Regions from separate parts of the Homo sapiens genome. Here region 1 is linked to region 2. The links are contacts of gene promoters, found by promoter capture Hi-C in blood cells and fetal thymus (Javierre and others, 2016). All regions are on one chromosome and are shown on one strand. The core of a region is centred on a gene start or on the middle of the fragment in contact, and the rest is flanking DNA. Distances in the headings are between cores, read along the strand shown.

Region 1 (4,017 bases), core at 586-3,085, 230 kb before region 2:
TCACATTCCTGATGCAGATTGCTGGTACCAGGGGGATCTTGTATCAAAATATTGTGGTTGTGTGTTTTGACCTATATAGTAGCTAACTGCGGGACTGGCTCAGGAGATTGCCTTCATTTTATTTGCCTCATCTCTGGGCTTTTTCAGGACTGACATGGCCTGCCAAGAGGCATTTGTCAAAAGCATTTAAAGGAAAATATATACTAGCTGCAGCCACCTAGGAGAAGGAATAAAAGATGGGAGTGGTGGTATACAGATTGAAAAGCCTGGGAAGAAAGAGGCTGGGGTAGGAGCTACTTGGGGCATGAGGGCTTTGGAAAGCATCTGTGTATACAGGGGAATCTAAAACTTACCCAAGAAGACCTTAGGCTCCCACTTCTGACTGCCTTTGAGGCTCTGTGCAAGCAGGAAGTGAAGGCTAACATACAGTTGTAAACAGCCTGGCTAAGCCTTGAAGGAGTGCCCCAATACCCAGCCAATCTGCAAAGACTGAAAGAGGGGTTTTTATTTTTGGTTCTAGATATTTAAGAAAATCTCTGTCAAATCACTAGCTGACTGTTACTCTACTAAAATAAAGACTTCAGTGAGCATATAAGATGAAAAATATCTTTATAAAAATATCTGTATAAAATATCTTTATAAAAATATTTAGAAAAGTCACTAAACAACACCTAGAACCCACAACAAGCAACAACAATGAATTCTTGGGGAGGGGGACAGAAAGACTCCCATTTCCAGTGATACCACAGTATAATATTCAAATTATTCCATTTTCAACAATAAAACAATTACTAGGCATGTGAAGAAATAAAAAAGTATAACCCATTCACAGGAAAAAAAATAATAAAAAATCCCTGAGGAAGCACAGACATTGGACTTACTAGACAAGACTTTAAGTCAACTATCTCCCTAACTGACCTAGCTCCATCTACCTTTTCTAACTCACCTTGTATCAGTCAATGCTTTGCTCACTATTGCCAGTCACACTGGCCATCTTGGTGAGCTTCAGACTATCAAGCTTATTCCTGCCTTCAGACATGCTGTGTACTCTCTTCTGGAACGTTCTCCCATTTCATTGCATAGCATACTCCATATAGTCTGTCTCTGTTCATATTCCACCTCCTCAGAGGCACCTTTCCTGACTACTTGATCTAAAATGGCTATGCCCATCCCAACTTCCTACAATTTCTGCTCCCTTTCATTGTTAAGTTCATCATTCTTTGAAATTACTTTCATTCATTCATCCTTTGTTGATTGACTGATGATTGACTGATTTTATGTTCCCCTTACTAGAAGGTAAGCTCCTTGGCAGCAGGTACTTTGTTTGTATCATTTACTGTGGATCACCCTCCTACAACAGTGACCTAGGCTAAATAAATATTTATCAAATGAATAAAGACAATTTATATGTGTTGAATAACAACAAAAAATATAAAAAGCTTATAAAATTCTTCTGAGAAGTCTCCCTTAGTTCAGAAATTTTGCTCACTAGCTGTTTGGGGAATCTACTAGAGGAAATCTGTCCATTGGTGATTCTTCAAATGAAGTGAGAGAACAAAATGTCTGATGCCACCATAGCCTGTCATTTCCCTCCCAGGGAAGGTAATCACAGGCATGTTGGGGGTAGTGGTGAGAAAACCTCTGCCACCCTGTAAGCACTGGCCTGGTCAGGGAATGAGAGTGTGTCAGTGAGCTGCAGGCTAACCTCTATGTGTGGTCCCCTGAGACCAAGAAAGCCACAACAGTTTTGGTGGTAGTAGTGACAGAGGTGTCAAGATTTCAAAGTAATAATATCTTTGGCAGAGGTTCAAAACAGGGTGGGTAATATAAAAATGCTGCTAAGTATTGCCTTGAGTTAAAAAAAAAAGCGGGGGAGAGTAGATTGACTGGTCTTTGTCTCTTCTTGTTCTGAAACTTCAGAATCATTGCCCAGAGAAAAGTGTCCTCCTTGATTCTGGCAAGTTCTAAAACAACCTGAGAGGAGAAATGATTCTGTAGAACTAAATTTATGAACAGCTGTGGGCTTATCTCATTAAGGATTAAACAGTTTTCATTCTGGATGAAAATCTTTCTAGAACCTATCACATACATCCTCTACCTTTTTATTACATTAACTACTTTCCTTTCTTCCCAAATTCACTATAATGAGCTCAGCAACATCTTCTGAGGCAGTAGGGCATCCTGATAAGAATGTTGCTTCTGAAGCCAGACAGCTTGGATTCAAAGCTTGGCTTTGTCACTCACCTGTTGGGCAGGTTAACACTCTATGCCTCAGTTTCTTTATCTGTAAATAGGGATAATATTAGTACCTTCCTCATAGGTTCTTGTAAGGACTAAATGAATTAATATATGTCATATACTTAACACATTGCCTGGGATATAGTACTGCTTGGAAAATGTTTGCTGCTGCTGCTATAACTATACTGTTACAATTATTACTATAGCGAGATTTTTTTTGGTGTCTTGAGCTCATTATAAAGATGCTAAATTATAATATGCTGCAACTTAGTGATACCTTCTTAAAGGGCACAGTGTTACTAGCTTTTACATAAAATGGCCCCAGACTGATTTGCTGGAGTGGTCTAATACGCTGTTTTATAGCTCCTGTATTTTCCTTTGTGAAGTCTCCTTTTTACTTCTCACTGTTGTTGCTATTTTTTCATATCTATATCAGCCTTTTCCATGCTTCTATTTTTGTAGGAGGCATAAAAAAGAGTTAACCAATTTGTTAGACATGTGTGTTAAGTAAAAGCTAATATATTCTAAACTAAGTTGAAAAAACACTTCTATGGATGGAGAGAAGAACTTGAGTCCATGGACAACTCTTTTGGCTATTCAGAGGTATTTTGTTATTGTTTCTTGCTTCTTAGATAAAATATAAAAAGTTACTATAAAAGTAAGTTTCTGGGATAATAGATGTAACAATGGTAATATATAAAGTTAAAATTAACAAACCTCTAATTGAGTTCAAATAAATACTCATTACAGTCCTATTACATGCTAGATACTGAGGCAACAAAAATGAATGATATGGCTCTGAACTACAAGAAGCTTGCAATTAAGAGGAGGAGATAAAGTATAAACAAACAATATCAAGATAACATAGCTAGAGATACCAAAGAGTTTAGACCAGGTACTATGGGAGTCTAGAGGAAGGGCCCTTAGCCTAACCTGGGGATTCAGGGAAAGCTTCCTGAAAGAGGATCATGCCTAAACTGAGCTTGATGACAGCCAGGTGAAGAAAGGTTAGATGGGCTATTCTAAGCATGGAAACATGAGAAGTGATGAGACAGGAAGCAGCATAGTGCTTTCGTGAGAGTATGTAGCTGTGGGTATAAATAATAAATAGTTTGATATTGCTATAATTAAAAATGAGATGGGAAATAGTGGAAAATGAAGCTAGGAGGTAGACTATAGGGATCAGACTCAAGAGGTCCTCATATGTCATGCTGAGAAGCTTGAATATCACTTGTTAAGAGATGGGAAGCCATTAAGAACACTTTGAGAAAAATGGCAATTTGCAGATTTTCACTTTAGATGTATAACTCAAATGAGCAGTGTAAAAGACAGCAAAACTAGAAAAGACTGTGGGAAGAGGGACCAGTTAGATGGTTGTTGCAATTAACAAGCTAGAGATAGTAAGAACTGAAAGGAGACAAGGCAGCGGGGATGGTGTGGAAGAGAGGGTTCCAGACGTATTTGGAAGATAAAATTGGAAGGTCCTCGCGACTTATTAGATGAGTTGGGGACAAGGTGGAGAGAAATCTAGGATGGCCTTGAGTTACTAGGAAGATGACAATTCAATTAACTGAGAGAGAAATAGGTGGGTTTTTGTTTTTTGTTTTTTAATTTAGTTTCTTCTTTTTTCTTTTGGGGGTGGGCATAAGAAGATAAAACAGTGAGTTCAGGCTGGGACATATTAAGCTTTAGGTAGTTATGGGAGAGGTACGAACTGGATATATTTTAGAGTAATTAACAATAGATAGAATCATAAAAGCAAATGGCAGCCCCTAGATA
Region 2 (3,915 bases), core at 234-2,733:
TGCCAGTGGAAGCATTGTCAGTACACAAGGAGCCCCACGGGTATCTAGCAAATGGACCAAGTCTCAGCACAGCCAAGCAGGGCGTCAGAAACGCAGGTTTCACAGCCATTGTCGTCTGCTTTCCAAAGGGTCTGAACTGAGGACATAATCTGTGCAATGGAGGTTGAAGGGCTTTCCAGCACCACAGAGCTTCATGGAACACCCAGGACCCTGAGATGGCCCCCCTCTCTGATCTCACGTCCTGCTGTTTGCCTCTCACTCACTCCTACTTCTATCTATTTGTACCTCAATGGGGCCACACTCATTCCCACCTCAGGGCCTTTGCACTTGCTGTTACCTCTGCTAAAAGTGCTCCTCCTTTTGCCTGGGAGAAGCTGTCTTGGGATCTTCACAAGACTTTGTCCTTCTTGTGGTTCAGTCTCAGATCACAGTCCCCTCCTTAAGAGACCTCTCCTGACTACCCCTTCTAAATCAGCAGCCCCAGGCCAGGTGCAGTGGCTCACGCCTGTAATGCCAACACTGGGAGGCCAAGGCAGGAGGATTGCTTGAGCTCAGGAGCTTGAGACCAGCCTGGGCAACATAGCGAGACCTCCTCTCTTCTAAAACTAAAAAAATCAGCTGGGCTTAGTGGTGTGTGCCTGTAGTCCCAGCTACTCAGGAGGCTAAGGTAGGAGGATTGCTTGAGCCAGGGAGCAAGGCTGCAGTGAGCCATGATCGCGCCACTCCACTGCAGCCTGGGGAACAGAGCAAGACCCTGTCCCCGCCCCCCAAAAAATCAGCCCCTAATCTGTTTGTATACATCACATCTCCCTGCTTTACTCCCTTTGTAGTACTTACTACCTGAAATAATTCTGCTCATTATTTGCTGACATGCTAGAAAAGTGCCTGGCAAATGATTGACTCTCAATGAAGATGTGCTGAATGCAAGGCTTCATGAATGAAGAGGAAATCTCACTAACGTCTTTTGTAATAAGGACCCAGGTACCTATGTTCAAAAGTGCCTCAATCCTAGTTAACAAGGGCAGAGACCACGAGAAACAACACTGTGTTTAGTAGCAACTTAACAACCAGCCAGCAGTTCTGTCCACACACACACCACCGGGCATGGTTCCAAAGCTAAAAAGGCACTAATTGCTTTTCTATAAGGAGGTAGAACACAGTCCCTCCGTGTTCTTTAGGCCTGATGGTCTGCATTATCGGATCTGTTACCGTGTTAATTGTTCCTGTCTCACACAGCCGGTTTGGGCTTTCTTCTGCATATGTCTGGGATGGTGACGGGTTCCTATATAGAGGAGTACTGGGGAAGCCTCTGTGTGTGTGTGTGTGTCCGTGCATATGTACACATGTGTGTAAAAAGCAGCCACACGCTGAGAATGGTTAACGGGTAGCCAGGCTGTCTGTACTCAGGGCCCTAAGACTGGCCCAGGAAAGGGCCGGGGGAGGTGGGGCGGGGTGAAGGTGGAGCGGGCTTGGCTTGTGCTCACTGCCTTTTCCACAACAGGAGTACAAATGCTGGAGTGAGTGAGGTGAACTCAAGTCGCCTTTAGGAATGGCTGAAAAAGCCCACACCTGGAAATCACTCCCTCCCTGCTCCTCCACGGCAGGTTGCATCTGCGAGACGCTTCGGTCATTAGAGGAATGAGCCGGGAGTGAGCAATTCACCAGCTCTCCAGCACTTGGTGGAAAGCAGCAGGCAAGGATGGATGTGGTTGACAGCCTTCTTGTGAATGGAAGCAACATCACTCCTCCCTGTGAACTCGGGCTCGAAAATGAGACGCTTTTCTGCTTGGATCAGCCCCGTCCTTCCAAAGGTAAGTGTCGGAAGCTGTTATTTTAATTCAGGAAACTATTGAGTTGTGGGAGAAATCAGCAAAGGCAAGGCTGATAAAAAATATATATAACCAAGTCATTGTGAGACAAGGCTAGATAAAGTCATATGTTCAGAAGTTTGGAGAAGAGATTAAAAAGCAGAATAGAGTCAAATATTCTTATTGTCCCCCATGGGGGAGTTGGGCATTCATGAATAGGACTTGGGGGAACAAAAGCAGGGGAGGAAAAGCTGAGTGAAGCAAGAGGGACTACAAGTGTCAAAGCCTGAACTTACAAGCACAGCAGAAAAGGTGTTGTCACCATGCAGCTGTTTTCTTTTCTTGGGGGGAAACCCAGCATGAAGTGATTAAAGTGAAATAATGCTTAGCAGCCAGGAAAGAAAGTGATCACTGTTCACTTGAGGAGCTTTGTTCTTAAGAAAAAGTGGTTCCCTGAGTGATCCTTTAACAAACCAACCTTCTAAAAAGAAAATAATTCAGTCTCTGCTTTCCTCAATTTGTTTCCGCAAAATGTTGCCAGGACAGGAATCGTGGGTCCAGTGATGTACACCCCGGTGGGGGGAAAATCGGCAGGAATTCACCCTTGGCTTCGGTTTTAGCATTCTGCTGTCATCACCTCCATCCCTCCGTCTTGCTCCTGTTTCTCTCTGCAGAGTGGCAGCCAGCGGTGCAGATTCTCTTGTACTCCTTGATATTCCTGCTCAGCGTGCTGGGAAACACGCTGGTCATCACCGTGCTGATTCGGAACAAGCGGATGCGGACGGTCACCAACATCTTCCTCCTCTCCCTGGCTGTCAGCGACCTCATGCTCTGTCTCTTCTGCATGCCGTTCAACCTCATCCCCAATCTGCTCAAGGATTTCATCTTCGGGAGCGCCGTTTGCAAGACCACCACCTACTTCATGGGTAAGTTGCTGCTGGTGACTCTTTCTGGAGCTTGCCCCAGACCCCACTCAGCCCCAGACCTTCCCAAACCTCTGACAATCACAGCAAAGGAGCCCTGCTGAGGGCTGAATCACAGAACATCAGGCTGTGCATGGCTGTGTGCACGGACATTGGTGCTGGCTTGACAGTCATCCTTATACGTTCCCCACAAGTCGGTCCCCATCATCCATGTTGGAGGTCAGTTTCTAAGAGTGAAATAAATTGATAGGAAAACACAGGGGCAGTTGATTTTGCTTGCTTCTATTTGAAGGGAAGAGGGACTTGCTTGCTTCTGTTTGAAGTCAGAAGTGACTTTAAGCTGCTCTATCCCTTTCTGGAAGCTGTTGACTGTGTCCTGATCTATACACAACTTGAGTCCTGGCTTCTAGGGAGGGTGAGGATGATGGAGGAGGGTTCTTTGCAGTTGTTTCTTTTGTTTTCTTAGGGAACAGGGGCTATTTGAAAACCAGTTCTATCGCAGTTTCAGATTCTCTTCTCAGGATTCACTTCCCAGCCTGTTCTCCCCAAAGCTGGGGCCATCTCTGGCAGAAAGAGAGAGAGAGAGAGGTCTCTGCCCCTAGATGAGGAGTTGAATTTGCTCCTGGGGGCTATGGGGTCGCTAAGCTGACCCTGATTGGCTGAGATATATAGCTCTTTGCCTATGCCAAACAAAAATGATGATAATGAAAATCATAAGAGCTAAATTTTTTTAGCGCTTTTATGCACCCCATGTGGTACTAAGTGCTTTGCCTTCCATGATCTTACCTTATCTCCCAACCACTCTATGAAGTAAATGCAATGATTCTTCCTTGTCTCCCTAAGGAGGAAACAGAGGCACAGAGAGGTCCATAATGTGCCTAGAACCACACAGATGGTAAGCAACAGAGCTGAGATTTGAGTCCAGATTTGTAGCCACACAATGGTGAGCATGATACCTCAGTTTGCCAACTGCTGTGGTTCTCTTAAAGTTGAACAAAAAAACACATTTCTTGGTCCCCTCTGGGTGCCAGATTGCCTAGTCCCTTGCCCTTTCTGAGAATTAGTTGGGAGAAGGGCAGAGATGGGAAATAAGAAGGGAGTTATTTTTTGTTCTGACCCAAGCCTTGCAGAATATGCAGAACTGAGTTAGGCTAGGGCAGTCTTCAATGACCAGAAAGCCTTAT

The links. The method cuts DNA at HindIII sites, captures the fragments that hold promoters and counts their contacts. A CHiCAGO score of 5 or more calls a contact.
Region 1: a contact is called between a fragment that was not itself captured here and the fragment with the promoter of CCKAR in region 2, in 1 of 17 cell types (endothelial precursors). The highest score is 5.8, in endothelial precursors.

Annotation. Positions count from the first base shown.
Region 1 is chr4:26,721,118-26,725,134 of GRCh38, reverse strand. All of the region lies in intron 15 of TBC1D19 (TBC1 domain family member 19), which reads right to left. Among named protein-coding and RNA genes, the nearest start is that of STIM2-AS1, 140 kb to the left of the region's middle. The HindIII fragment of the contact is 787 bases long and covers 1,442-2,228 here.
Region 2 is chr4:26,488,052-26,491,966 of GRCh38, reverse strand. It overlaps CCKAR (cholecystokinin A receptor), which reads left to right and starts at 1,483. Exons shown (of 5, transcript NM_000730.3): 1 at 1,483-1,811; 2 at 2,483-2,734. The coding sequence starts at 1,700. The HindIII fragment of the contact is 9,380 bases long and covers 1-3,915 here.